2 separate regions of the Homo sapiens genome follow, and region 1 is linked to region 2. Evidence: promoter capture Hi-C in human tissues and cell types (Jung and others, 2019). All regions are on one chromosome and are shown on one strand. Each heading gives the region's core, a stretch centred on a gene start or on the middle of the fragment in contact. The rest is flanking DNA. Distances are from core to core; before and after follow the strand shown. Region 1 overlaps ELL (elongation factor for RNA polymerase II). Region 2 holds the start of CRTC1 (CREB regulated transcription coactivator 1).

What was found. The method cuts DNA at HindIII sites, captures the fragments that hold promoters and counts their contacts. A contact is called where the count stands out against the background at its distance.
Region 1: a contact is called between a fragment that was not itself captured here and the fragment with the promoter of CRTC1 in region 2, in 1 of the 25 tissues and cell types used here (dorsolateral prefrontal cortex).

The regions. Positions count from the first base shown.
Region 1 is chr19:18,509,416-18,515,592 of GRCh38, forward strand. All of the region lies in intron 1 of ELL (elongation factor for RNA polymerase II), which reads right to left. Among named protein-coding and RNA genes, the nearest start is that of ELL, 9.6 kb to the right of the region's middle. The HindIII fragment of the contact is 5,853 bases long and covers 1-5,727 here.
Region 2 is chr19:18,681,821-18,687,491 of GRCh38, forward strand. It overlaps CRTC1 (CREB regulated transcription coactivator 1), which reads left to right and starts at 1,860. Exons shown (of 14, transcript NM_015321.3): 1 at 1,860-2,008. The coding sequence starts at 1,883. RefSeq lists an enhancer at 1,250-1,549 and a silencer at 1,760-1,849. The HindIII fragment of the contact is 17,160 bases long and covers 1-5,671 here.

The DNA.
Region 1 (6,177 bases), core at 1,551-4,050, 170 kb before region 2:
TTCCTGGTGGGGAGTCACCCTTCCGAAAGAAGGGCAATGTGATGGGGTGGCCGCCCCCACCCGGCCCCTTGGCCCACAGGCCCCCACTAATCAGCCTACCCTGGATAGAGGGGCCCAACCTAAGGTCTCCAGGGTGAACACAGATGGAGACACAGGCCAATGCACGTGCGCGCGCGCGCACATACACACACACACACACACACACACACACACACACACACACACACACACACACACACACACTCCCCTCCCCAACTGGAGGCCTGGGGCTCCTCCTGGAAGTAGGTGGATTCCACCTGCCCACAGGATCCTAAGAAAACTCTGCTCCTCCTCTTCCCTCCCACCCACCTTCAGCAAATGCCTCAGGGCTAGGCCAAGGGCAGCAGCTGGACCCCCCCGCCCAGCCAGTGCCCCCCAGTGGGCTGTCCCTGACCTGCAGGACCTCCAGGCCACTTCTCACCTGGAAGAGACCTCATTTTCCACAAAAGCTTAATCCAAAAAGGGCTAAAAATAGAGATTCTGCACCCATCTGAGCTCTTTGCCTGAGAAGGGCCCTGAAGCCTCAGTACCTGCAGGGCTCAGAAGTCCTGCCACTGAGAGGCTCAACCACCCTGGCCAACCTCACCCAAGGCCCTTCCTAACCCTCACTGCTTACAGAAACCCATGTCCCAGCTGGGCACGATGGCTCACGCCTGTAATCCCAGCACTTTGGGAGGCCAAGGTGGGTGGATCACTTGAGGCCAGGAGTTTGAGGCCAGCCTGGCCAGCATGGTGAAACCCCGTCTCTACTAAAAACACAAAAAACTTAGCTGGGCATTGTGGCGCAAGCCTGTAATCCCAGCTAATTTGGAGGCTGAGGCACGAGAATTGCTTGAACCTGGGAGGTGGAGGTTGCAGTGAGCCAAGAATCACACCACTGCACACTCCAGCCTGGGTGACAGAGTGAGACTCGGTCTCAAAACAAAAAGAGAAACCTGCATCCCAACACAGGCCGGGCAACCGCACACTGGCTATGCAGAAGCAGGGCACGTAGCCACTGTCATCTCCACTCAGCCCCAGCTTCCCTCACTGCAGAGCCACACCGGGCTCTCCCTGTCCCTTTCTCTCACCTGAGCCCAGGTGATCCTGCTCGAGACCTTCCTCTGTCACCTGTGACCAGGTGACTCCTGGGTCCATCCAGGGGCATCAGAGGCCCTGCAGGTCCTAGCTCTCACAGGACAGTCACATACATGAGGGCATTTAAATGGCTCCAAGACCACCCCACACCCATTAAGATGGCTACCATCAAAAAATAACCAGTTCGGGCAAGGACGTGGCGAAACCACAACCCTTGTGCACGGCTGGTGGGAATGTAAAATGCTGCAGCCGCTGTGGAAAACAATCTGGCAAATCCTCAAAAAATTAAACACAGAATGACCAAATGAGGCCGGGAGCAGTGTCTCACACCTCTAATCCCAGCACTTTGGGAGGCCGAGGTGGACAGATAACCTGAGGTCAGGAGTTCAAGACCAGCATGGCCAACATGGTGAAACCCCGTCTCTACTAAAAATATAAAAATTAGCTACGCATGGGCCGGGTGCGGTGGCTCATGCCTGTAATCCCAGCACTTTGGGAGGCTGAGGCGGGCAGATCATGAGGTCAGGAGATCGAGACCATCCTGGTTAACATGGTGAAACCCCATCTCTACTAAAAATATAAAAAATTAGCCAGGCATGGTGGTGGGCGCCTGTAGTCCCAGCTACTCGGGAGGCTGAGGTAGGAGAATGGCATGAACCCGGGAGGTAGAGCTTGCAGTGAGCTGAGATAGCACCACTGCACTCCAGCCTGGGTGACAGAGCGAAACTCCGTCTCAAAAAAAAAAAAAATTAACTTGGCGTGGTGGTGGGCGCCTGTAATCCCAGCTACTTGGGAGGCTGAGGCAGGAGAATTGCTTCAACCTGGGAGGCAGAGGTTGCAGTGAGTCAAGATCACGTCACTGCACTCCAGCCTCGGCGATCCAACAGGTCTACTTCTGGGTATGTATCCAAAAGAACTGAAAGCAGGGGTTTGAACAGATACTTACATGCCCTGTTCACAGTAGCATGGTTCACTACAGTCAAGAGGTGGAAGCAACCCAAATGCCCATGGACAGAGGAATGGATGAGCACGATGTGGTCCATCCACACCACAGGACATCAGTCTGGTTCCCTGCCCACTGCCCACCACCCACCATACCACCGGAGGGGGCCTGATGGAGAAGGTGGAAGTACAGGGGGCCCCAGCTCCCTCTGACAGTGCTGTGGGCTTTCCAGTGGGAAAATTGCTAAAGAAACCAGGAAGCTGGCCAGGCACAGTGGCTCAAGCTTGTAATCCCAGCATTTTGGGAGGCTGAGGTTGGAGGACTGCTTGAGCCCAGGAGTTCGAGACCAGCCTGCGCAACACAGTGAGACCCTGCCTCTACAAATTAAAAAAAAAAAAAGGGCCGGGCACAGTGACTCACGCCTGTAATCCCAGCACTCTGGGAGGCCGAGGTGGATGGATCATGAGGTCAGGAGTTCAAAACCAGCCTGGCCAAGATGGTGAAACCCCGTCTCTACTAAAAATACAAAAATTAGCCGGGCATGGTGGCAGATGCCTGTAATCCCAGCTACTGGGGAGGCTGAGGCAGGGGAATCGCTTGAACCCAGGGGGCAGAGGTTGCAGTGAGCCAAGATCATGCCACTGCACTCCAGTCTAGGCGACAGAGTAAGACTCCGTCTCAAAAAAAAAAAAGAAAAAAAATTAGTTGAGTGTGATAGCATATGCCTGTAGTCCCAACTACTGGGGAGGCTGAGGTGGGAGGATCGCTTGAGCCCAGGATGTTGAGGCTGCAGTGAGCTGTGATCACGTGATTGCACTCCAGTCTGGGCAACAGAGCAGAAAGCTCCGTCTCAAAAATAAAGAAATAAAAATAAAGAAACAGGCCAGGTGCGGTGACTCACGCCTGTAATCCCGGCATTTTGGGAGGCCAAGGCGGGCAGGTCGCTTCAGCTCAGAAGTTCAAGACCACCCTGGGCAACATGGTGAAACCCCATCTCTACAAAAACATACAAAAAGCAACCAGGCGTGATGATGGGTGTCTGTAGTACCAGCTATTTAGGAGGCTGAGGTGGGAGGATTGCTTGAGCCTGGGAGGCAGAGGTTGCAATGAGCCAAAACTAGGAAGCCAGTTCTCTATTTCAGAAAAAAAACAATAAAACCCTAACAGCAGAGCTATAGGAGAAGCTATTTTAAATTTTGGAGGCTTTGCTTTCTGGGATCATTTTTTGGGTCAACGAGGAGAGCAGCTGACACCTCGTGCACAGCCAGGGAGAACAAGCCTGTCTCACCTCTAGGACAACACCTTCACCTGAATTGGGAAGTTGAGGCTCAGGGAGGGTGCCAGCAGCCTGGAGCCCCAAATTGTCAGTGGGAGCAGCGCCACCAATGTACCTGATCCCCAATATGCAGTTCTCAGCATCCTTCAAGAGAGACGCCTCTTTGTGAAAACATTTTCACCAACATATAAAAAGGACACGGGGCGCAACAACAGCATCTCATGAAGAGCTGAGGCCCCCGATGGGCCTGGGGGAAGGACAGGGGTGTTAACAGTAGGGTATATACTTGCGGTCTCCCCATCTGAAGAACGGTGAGAAGGACTGACCACAGCCCTCCATCACCAGCAGCTCAATTTGTCCAAAGAGGAGCAAGCCAAGCGGGGCTGAGCTGCCTTCCCTGGCCTCAAAATCGCAGCCTCATACTCCAGGCTCCACTCACAGACACATGGGCATGCCAGGCCGTGGCCTGTGCTGGGTCACCTGCCTCACCTCACCTCATCGCTCTATGTAGCCTCACTACGGGACAGTGGACTGGCCTGTACACACACAAGGCCTGCAGCATCCGGACATCCCCAGAACCAAGCATAGTGCCAAGAACACAAAAATGCCCGAAGAATACTGACCTGTCAGGCTCCACGATGCACAGAAGGTGCAGCATTAAAACATAAAGTGTTCAGGGAAGAAGAGACGCAAAACCATATGATTGTGCCACTATGACAACACGGTACACCCAGGCGAGACAGAGGAGGGTGCAAAGGTGTCAACAGAAATTACCTGGGGCAATGAGAACAGACTTGCTAATTTTAGGTACATTGCAGGCTTTCTACCCTGAGTTATACTGCTTATATAGTAAAAAGGAAAAAAAAAACTTCACAGGATGCTTTTAAAACAGGAGTTCAGGCTGGGCCCAGTGGCTCACGCCTGTAATCCCAGCACTTTGGGAGGCTGAGGCGGGCGGATCACAAGGTCAGGAGATGGAGACCATCCTGGCTAACACGGTGAAACCCTGTCTCTACTAAAAACACAAAAAATTAGCCGGGCGTGGTGGCGGGCGCCTGTAGTCCCAGCTACGCAAGAGGCTGAGGCAGGAGAATGGCATGAACCTGGGAGGCAGAGGTTGCAGTGAGCCAAGATCACACCACTGCACTCCAGACTGGGCGACAGAGCGAGACTCCATCTCAAAAACAAAACAAAACAAAACAAAAAAATCGGAATTCAGTTATTCCACAAACTTGACCAGAACTCGAAGCCCTACCCCTTCACAAACACATCTGCTGGCCTGGCTGCCTCAGTCAGGAGCCGTGTCTCCACTTGGTCAGGAGGGTCCAGCCCTGGAGGATATAATTAGCATCAGACTCTGGGGCCCACTGCCAGGTCAGATGGAGGCGGGAGGTCTCTAGGACGCTTTTATCTGGGAGAATAGTCTCCCTGCGGATGGTTTATTTGGACACCAGCTTTTTTCATTAAAAAGCAAAGTGACAGCCGGGCACGGTGGCTCGCACCTGTTAATCCCAGCACTTTGGGAGGCCAAGGCAAGCAGATCACGAGGTCAAGAGATCGAGACCATCCTGGCTAACACGGTGAAACCCCATCTCTACTAAAAATACAAAAAAATTAGCCGGGTGTGGTGACGGGCGCCTGTAGTCCCAGCTACTCAGAAGGCTGAGGCAGGAGAATGGCGTGAACCTGGGAGGCAGAGTTTGCAGTGAGCTGAGATCACACCACTGCACTCCAGCCTGGGCAACAGAGTGAGACTCCATCTCAAAAAAAAAAAAAAAAAAAAAAGCAAAGTGACAAAATAACCACATGTCATGGCCATCTCTGTCATTCACTGCACCTGCAGGTCACAGGCCATTTGGATGCATTGTTCTACATTTCCCTTTGGACTCTGTGGCTGACTACACAGGTGAGATTGAAGACAACCCTGTCCATGAGATTCAGAGACCAAGGAGAAAGTGTAACAACTGAATTCATCAAGGCAGAAAGCACAACGGGGAGCAAGACCCTAAAACAAAGGACACAGAAGAGGCCAAACCCAAAATGTGCAGTATCAATCACAAGTCTGTGCCCTGCCAGGTGCCTTAAACAAGGCTGATGCCCCCTGAGAAGCAGACCTCTGAAAACTAGGGTCTCTTCCCTGGGCAGCTGCTTCGAGCCCAGGGCTACGTGGAGCAGAGAGGCAATCCTGTTTGTCAGGCTGGCGGGTTCCTCCCTCAAGGTCTCCCAGTCGGGATGTCACAATCCGGGTGTGATGTCAAAACTGCTTCAAAGGTGATGAACTACGGCCTTGGCCGTGAGTCAACAGAGGGGTGGGTTTCCGAGTGAGCGCTGCCTGCTGTTTACACACAATCACAGCCACGGCAACCAGCTGAAAGCACAGTCAAGGGTCACGATGCCGAGTGCAGAGCTCAGTCCCTCACACACACTCTTGCCTGCCTCCTGCAGAGACTGCCAGCTCGGGCCCACAGACTCAAGCTGGCTTGTCCTCTTCTAGCACCTTCTGGGAGAATCCACCCAGAACCACCAAATGCTCACCTTGAAACACACAGGCAAACCATACCCTGGTGCACCAGTGGGCCACTCCTGATGCCTCCTGGCAGCCCACCTGTTCCACCCCAGCCCATCCAGCGGCCACAGTCCTTCAGAGGTGGCAGAGCCCAGGCCATGACACTTGGATTCTGAGTTCTCAGCTACTTCCCAGCTGGGAGATCCTGCCTGGTGATTCAGCCTCCTCCAGAGTCTCCACCCATATCCTCACCTAAGAAATGGGAACTGCTCCCACCACGGGGAAGATGGGATGAAATGCAGTACTGTGGGTGGCACAGCCAGCACTGGCGGGGTG
Region 2 (5,671 bases), core at 610-3,109:
CGTCTCAAAAAAAAAAAAAAAAAAAAAATCCCATAAAAATTAGCTGAGCATCATGGTGCATGCCTGTAATCCCAGCTACTTGGGAGGCTGAGGTAGGAGAATCGCTTGAACCTGAGAGGCAGAGATTGCAGTGAGCCAAGGTTGCGCCACTGCACTCTAGCCTGGGCGACAGAGTGAGACTCTGTCTCAAAACAAAGATAAAGTAGGGCAGTGGCAATATCCAAGGCATTCTAAATGAAAATCGATATATATATATATATATTTAACATGAGCATTTTATTACCTGTTGTAAAGCATGAATCAAAGCATGTTTGGAAGATGTCAGCATCCCCTCCAGCCATCCTCAGTCCAATAAAATGTGTGCTTGTTGTGCCATTAGAGCCATCATCAATTCCCCCAGCTGACCTTCCTAGCTTCCACCCAGCCCATACTCTGAAATCCCTGCAGCCTCCTGAATATAAACTTTCAATATTGGTGGTTGGGGGTCCCTCTCTTGAGGGAGGGAGGGTTAGAGTCCCTCCTGCTTCCCTGGCTTACCACTCTGCCATCGGGGGAGTCTCTGCTCCTTCCTTCACTGCTGAGTCTTGATGGGATTTCTGGACCCTTCTGTTAGCACCTTGTTGCAAAATAGAGATCCTTGAACAAGACTGGACTGGAGAAGTATGCAGAGGGAAGGCTGAAGCTCTGTAACTCCAGTTCTTTGGGCTCAGGTATCCAGAGAATAGCAATATGCCCATTGCAAGGGAATGGGAAAAAGTAGTCGTCGGCTGGACATGGTGGCTCACGCCTGTAATCCCAGCACTTAGGGAGGGCGAGGCGGGTGGATCACCTGCTGTCAGGAGTTCAAGACCAGCCTGGCCAACATGGTCTTTAGTCTCTACTGAAAATAAAAAAATTAGCTGGGCGTGGTGGCGCCTGCCTGTAATCCTAGCTACTGGAGAGGCTGAGGCAGGAGAATGGCTTGAACCTGGGAGGAGGAGGTTGCAGTGAGCCGAGATCGCACCACTGCATTCCAGTCTGGGCGACAAGGGCAAAACTCGGTCTCAAGGGAAAAAAAAAAAAAAAAAAGAAAGTCGTTAAGGGCAACAGCTAGGTTTATGGACTGAGAGAGCCGATTGCAGGGTTCAGGTCTTAGCTAAGATAACTTTCCGCCTCCCTGTCTGTGGTGGCTGCAGGAGCCTCCCTCCCTAATGTTCTGTGGCTGGCCACTGGTCTTATTTACCGCATCACATTTACCTCCATCTGAAAAGTTCTTGGTTATTTGTGTGCTATGTCTGCCCCCTCTCTGACTGTACACTCCATAAGGGCAGGGATCACCTCTGCTTGTTCACGCCTGTACTCCAGTTTGCCTGGCACATAGTAGGTGCTCAGTAAATATTCCTTGAATGAATGAATGCATGAGTGACCAACGCCCTAGTCTGTTTTCAGAGCTCTTAGTCCAAACCCAGGTTCAACTTGGGGTGCCACCAATCCTTGCGGGGGGGGGTGCCTGGCCCCACCCTTGTGAATTGGGAGGATCTGGGTCAGGCCGTCTCCCTCTTGGGGGCTCCAGTGCCCCAGCCGATCCGCGGTCCTTGTCCAACAGCCCAGAGGCCGCTGTCCAGCGGGCCAGGAGGCGGATCACTGCGTCGGCGTTGAAATTTCCACTCGCGCTCCACCGCCCTTCCCGCGGGCCCCGAGCGCGCGCCTGGGCGCGCGCATGCGCCTTCGCCCCCGCGCCGCGCGCCGCTCCTGTGCGCCTGCGCCGCGCTCACGACCGCCGGCGCGCCTGCGCACTGCTCGCCGCCCGTGGGCCCAGCCGGCGCTTGCGCGGTGGCACGGGCGAGTGGGGGGGCGAGGAGGTGGAGGAGGAGGAGGAGGAGGAGGAGGTGGCGGCGAGAAGATGGCGACTTCGAACAATCCGCGGAAATTCAGCGAGAAGATCGCGCTGCACAATCAGAAGCAGGCGGAGGAGACGGCGGCCTTCGAGGAGGTCATGAAGGACCTGAGCCTGACGCGGGCCGCGCGGGTAAGGGGGCTGCCCGCGCCGACCCTTCAGGGCCGGCGGAGGGAGGGAGGGGGCGCGTGTCCGGCGCGTGCACGGGGCGGGGTGGGGGGGGGCGCGGCGGGGGCGGGGCGCGCGCGGCGGGGGCGGGGCTTGGCACGGCCCGAGGGGGACAGGTGTCCCCACGCCCCGGGCGTCGTGGGCGGGACAGGTGACCCCACAAAATCCATACCTGATGGGGTACAGGTGCCCTGCATCACTGCTCCCCGGAGGAGACAGGGGCCTCTATATCATTACTACTAGGAGGGAACAGGTGCTAGTACCTCGTCGTTACCTGACAGGGGACAGGTGTCCCTACATCATTGTTACCCGAGGGGGACAGGTGCCCCACATTATTACTACCTGGAAGGGACAGGTGCCCCCGCATCATTGCTACCTGGGGGGGCAGGATGACACAGGTGTATGAGCTGGGTGCTGCTTGCAAGCACCATTGGTAGCTGGGGGTGAGGGTGCAAGTGCCCCCGCATCCTTGCTACCTGGGAGGGACAGATGCCCTCCCATTCTTGCTACCTGAGGGGGACCGGTGTCTCTACGTCATGGTTACCTGTGCCTTTACTCCCTGGGTGTTGGGGGAGGAACGGATGTCCCCACTTGCAGAGCTGAGGTGGGACAGGGATCTCTCCCTCTTGGACAGCTGAGGGAATGGTCAGATCCTGTCCCCCAGGGGGTCCAGAGGGGGGCCAAGAAGGCAGATTGTGCTCAGTCCTGGAACTTGGAGTGGAGACAGCTGCCCCTTCTCCATGTAGCCCATATGGTGGGGGCCAGGTGATGTTCCTCCCAGTGGAACAGGGGATGCTGACCACAGCCCCTGCCCTCTCAGGACCAGGGTGGAGGGCCAGGTCTGCCTCAGGTGGCTGGGCGCATTTGGTGTGCAGGGGCAGGCCAGGTTCTGCCAGGCTCCTGTCTGGCAGAGCAGATACCCTGCAAATCTCACCTGGGAAGTTGCTGTGGGCCAGGAGCAGGGGCTTGGGGCTGGTGTCTGAGCACGGCAAGGCACCCGAGTTCCTCAGGCCTCAGTTTCTTGTCAGGCATTCTAGCAAGACCTTCCTCTTGGGGCAGGGTGGTGAGCACACTCTGCAAAGGTGATGCTGAATCTCCACTTTGTTCTTGCAGTGTGGTGAGACCTCTCTCCTGCATCCTGGGGCCTTGGGGAGGGTTTGGGTGGGCTTTGCAGATGCTCGTATCCCTGGTTTCCAGATTCAGCCACTGATGTGACTGGCTCAGGTAGACTTAACCTCAGTCTCTGATTCCTTAGGTAGCACTTTCAGTCTGTGTTACTTTGTAACTAGTTGTTTGTTTCTCTGAGAGATTGTGACCTTATAGACTAGGATTTGTGTCTTCATTTCTGTGTTGGTAATGATTGGGAGCTCACTGTCACCCAGGTACTGCTTTAGGCATGCTCGGTGAGTGTGCCACATCTGTCCTCCCAGCTCCAAGCAGCTACATTCTTGCTCAGGATGTAGAGAAAGAGATGGCTGGTGAATGAATGAATGAAAAAAAAATAAGAAAATGGCCAGGTGTGGTGGCTCATGCCTGTAATCCCAGCACTTTGGAAGGCTGAGGCAGTGGATCACCTGAGGTTAGGAGTTCGAGACCAGCCTGGCCAACGTGGTGAAACCCTGTCTGTACTAAAAATATAAAAATTAGCCGGACGTGGTGGTAGCTACCTGTAATCCCAGCTACTGGGGAGGTTGAGGTGGGAGAATCACTTGAACCTGGGAGGTGGAGGTTGCAGTGAGCCGAGATCATGTTACTGTACTCCAGCCTGGGTGACAAGAGTGAAACTCCATTTCAAAAAAAGAAAATAAGAAGAAAGTGTGCAACTTGAGCATCCTTCCACGTGAGTGTCCCCCACATATCAGGGCTTCTGAGGCAGGAGTGGCCACTTCTTTTTGTCTCCAGCACATGGTGTGTGCTGGCATGCAGTTGTTGTCAAATGTTTGCAGTGTGACCGGAAGAAAGGGGTCACAGTAGGTTCATGGGTGTCATTCTGATTAGAAGTCCAGTTTCTGCGTGGGATTGGAAATAGATTATTGTTGTTGAAAACATCTCTTTAAAATAATAGCTTTATTGAGATATGATTCACACATCATACAATTTACTTGTTTAAAGTGTACAGTTTGGTGGTTTTTAGTATATTCACAGAGTTGTGCAACCACCCCTATTTTGTAATTCCAGAACATTTTTTATCCACCCAGAAAGAAACCCCGTCCCCATTAACAGTCACTCCCCATTCCCCCTCCCCTAGCCCCTGGCAAGCACTAAGCTGTCTTCTGTCTCTGTGGGTTTTCCTATTCTGGGCATTTTATATAAATGGAATCACACAACACGTGGCCTTTTGTGACTGGCATCTTTCACTCAGCGTCATGTTTTCAAGGTTCATCTCTGTAGTATCATGGATCAGTGCTTCGTTCCTTTTTAGGGTCAAGTAATATTCCGTTGTATGGATATATTGTATTTGTTTATCCATTCATCAGTCAATGAATTTAGAAAAATTCTGAGGCCAAGTGCAGTGGCTCACACTTGTAATCCCAGCACTTTGGGAGGCCAAGGTGAGTGGATGACCTGAGGTCAGGAGTTCGAGACCAGCCTGGCCAACATGGTGAAACCCGTCTCCACTAAAAATACAAAAATTAGTCGGGTGTGGTGGCACATGCCTGTAATCCCAGCTACTCGGGAGGCTTAGACAGAAGAATCGCTTGAACCTGGGAAGTGGAGGTTGCAGTGAGCTGAGATTGTGTCACTGTACTCCAGCCTTGGCAACAGAGTGAGACTCCATCTCAAAACAAAAACAAAAACAAGATTCTGAAGATATGCAGGTGGCAGTTCTTTCAGCCCTGGAAACCATTTCCCATCTTCCTCATCACCTGGGGTCAGGGGAGCATGGGCTCTGGGCAGAGGTGAGTTCACACTAGATTTTTAGACACAAAGCATTGTTCTCTTTCTGGGGCAGGGGGTGATTCTGCCCCCCAGGGGACACTTGGTGATGTCTGGAGACATTTTGGGTCATCATGATTAGGGAGTGCTTCTAGCATCTGGTGGGTGGAGGCTGGGATGCTGCCCAACCCCCTACATGTAGTGCACAGGATGGCCCCATCGTGTGGAATAATCTGGCCCCAGATGTCGGCAGTGCCAAGACTGAGAAACTTTTTTTTTTTTTTTTTTTTTTGAGATAGACTCTTGCTCTGTTGCCCAGGCTGGAGTGCAGTGGCGCAATCTCGGCTCACTGCAACCTCTGCCTCCCGAGTTCAAGTGATTCTCCTTCCTCAGCCTCCCGAGTAGCTGGGATTACAGGCATCTGCTACCATGCCTGGCTAATTTTTGTATTTGTAGCAGAGATGGGGTTTGTAGTAGAGACCATGTTGGCCAGACTGGTCTCGAACTCCTGACCTCAGGTGATCCGGCCACCTCGGCCTCCCAAATTGCTGGGATTACAGGCATGAGCCACTGTGCCCAGCCAAGGCTGAGAAACTTTTGATTAGAGGTGTAACAGTGAGGTGGGCCAGGGTGTGAGCTTTGCACCTGGTCAGGTAGAGTTCCATCCTTTGCTCCCACCTATATGGCTGTGCCATCTCTGGCAGGCTGCGACCAGGGTGGGCAAGCTTATTCCCAGTTTGACTGGCCACT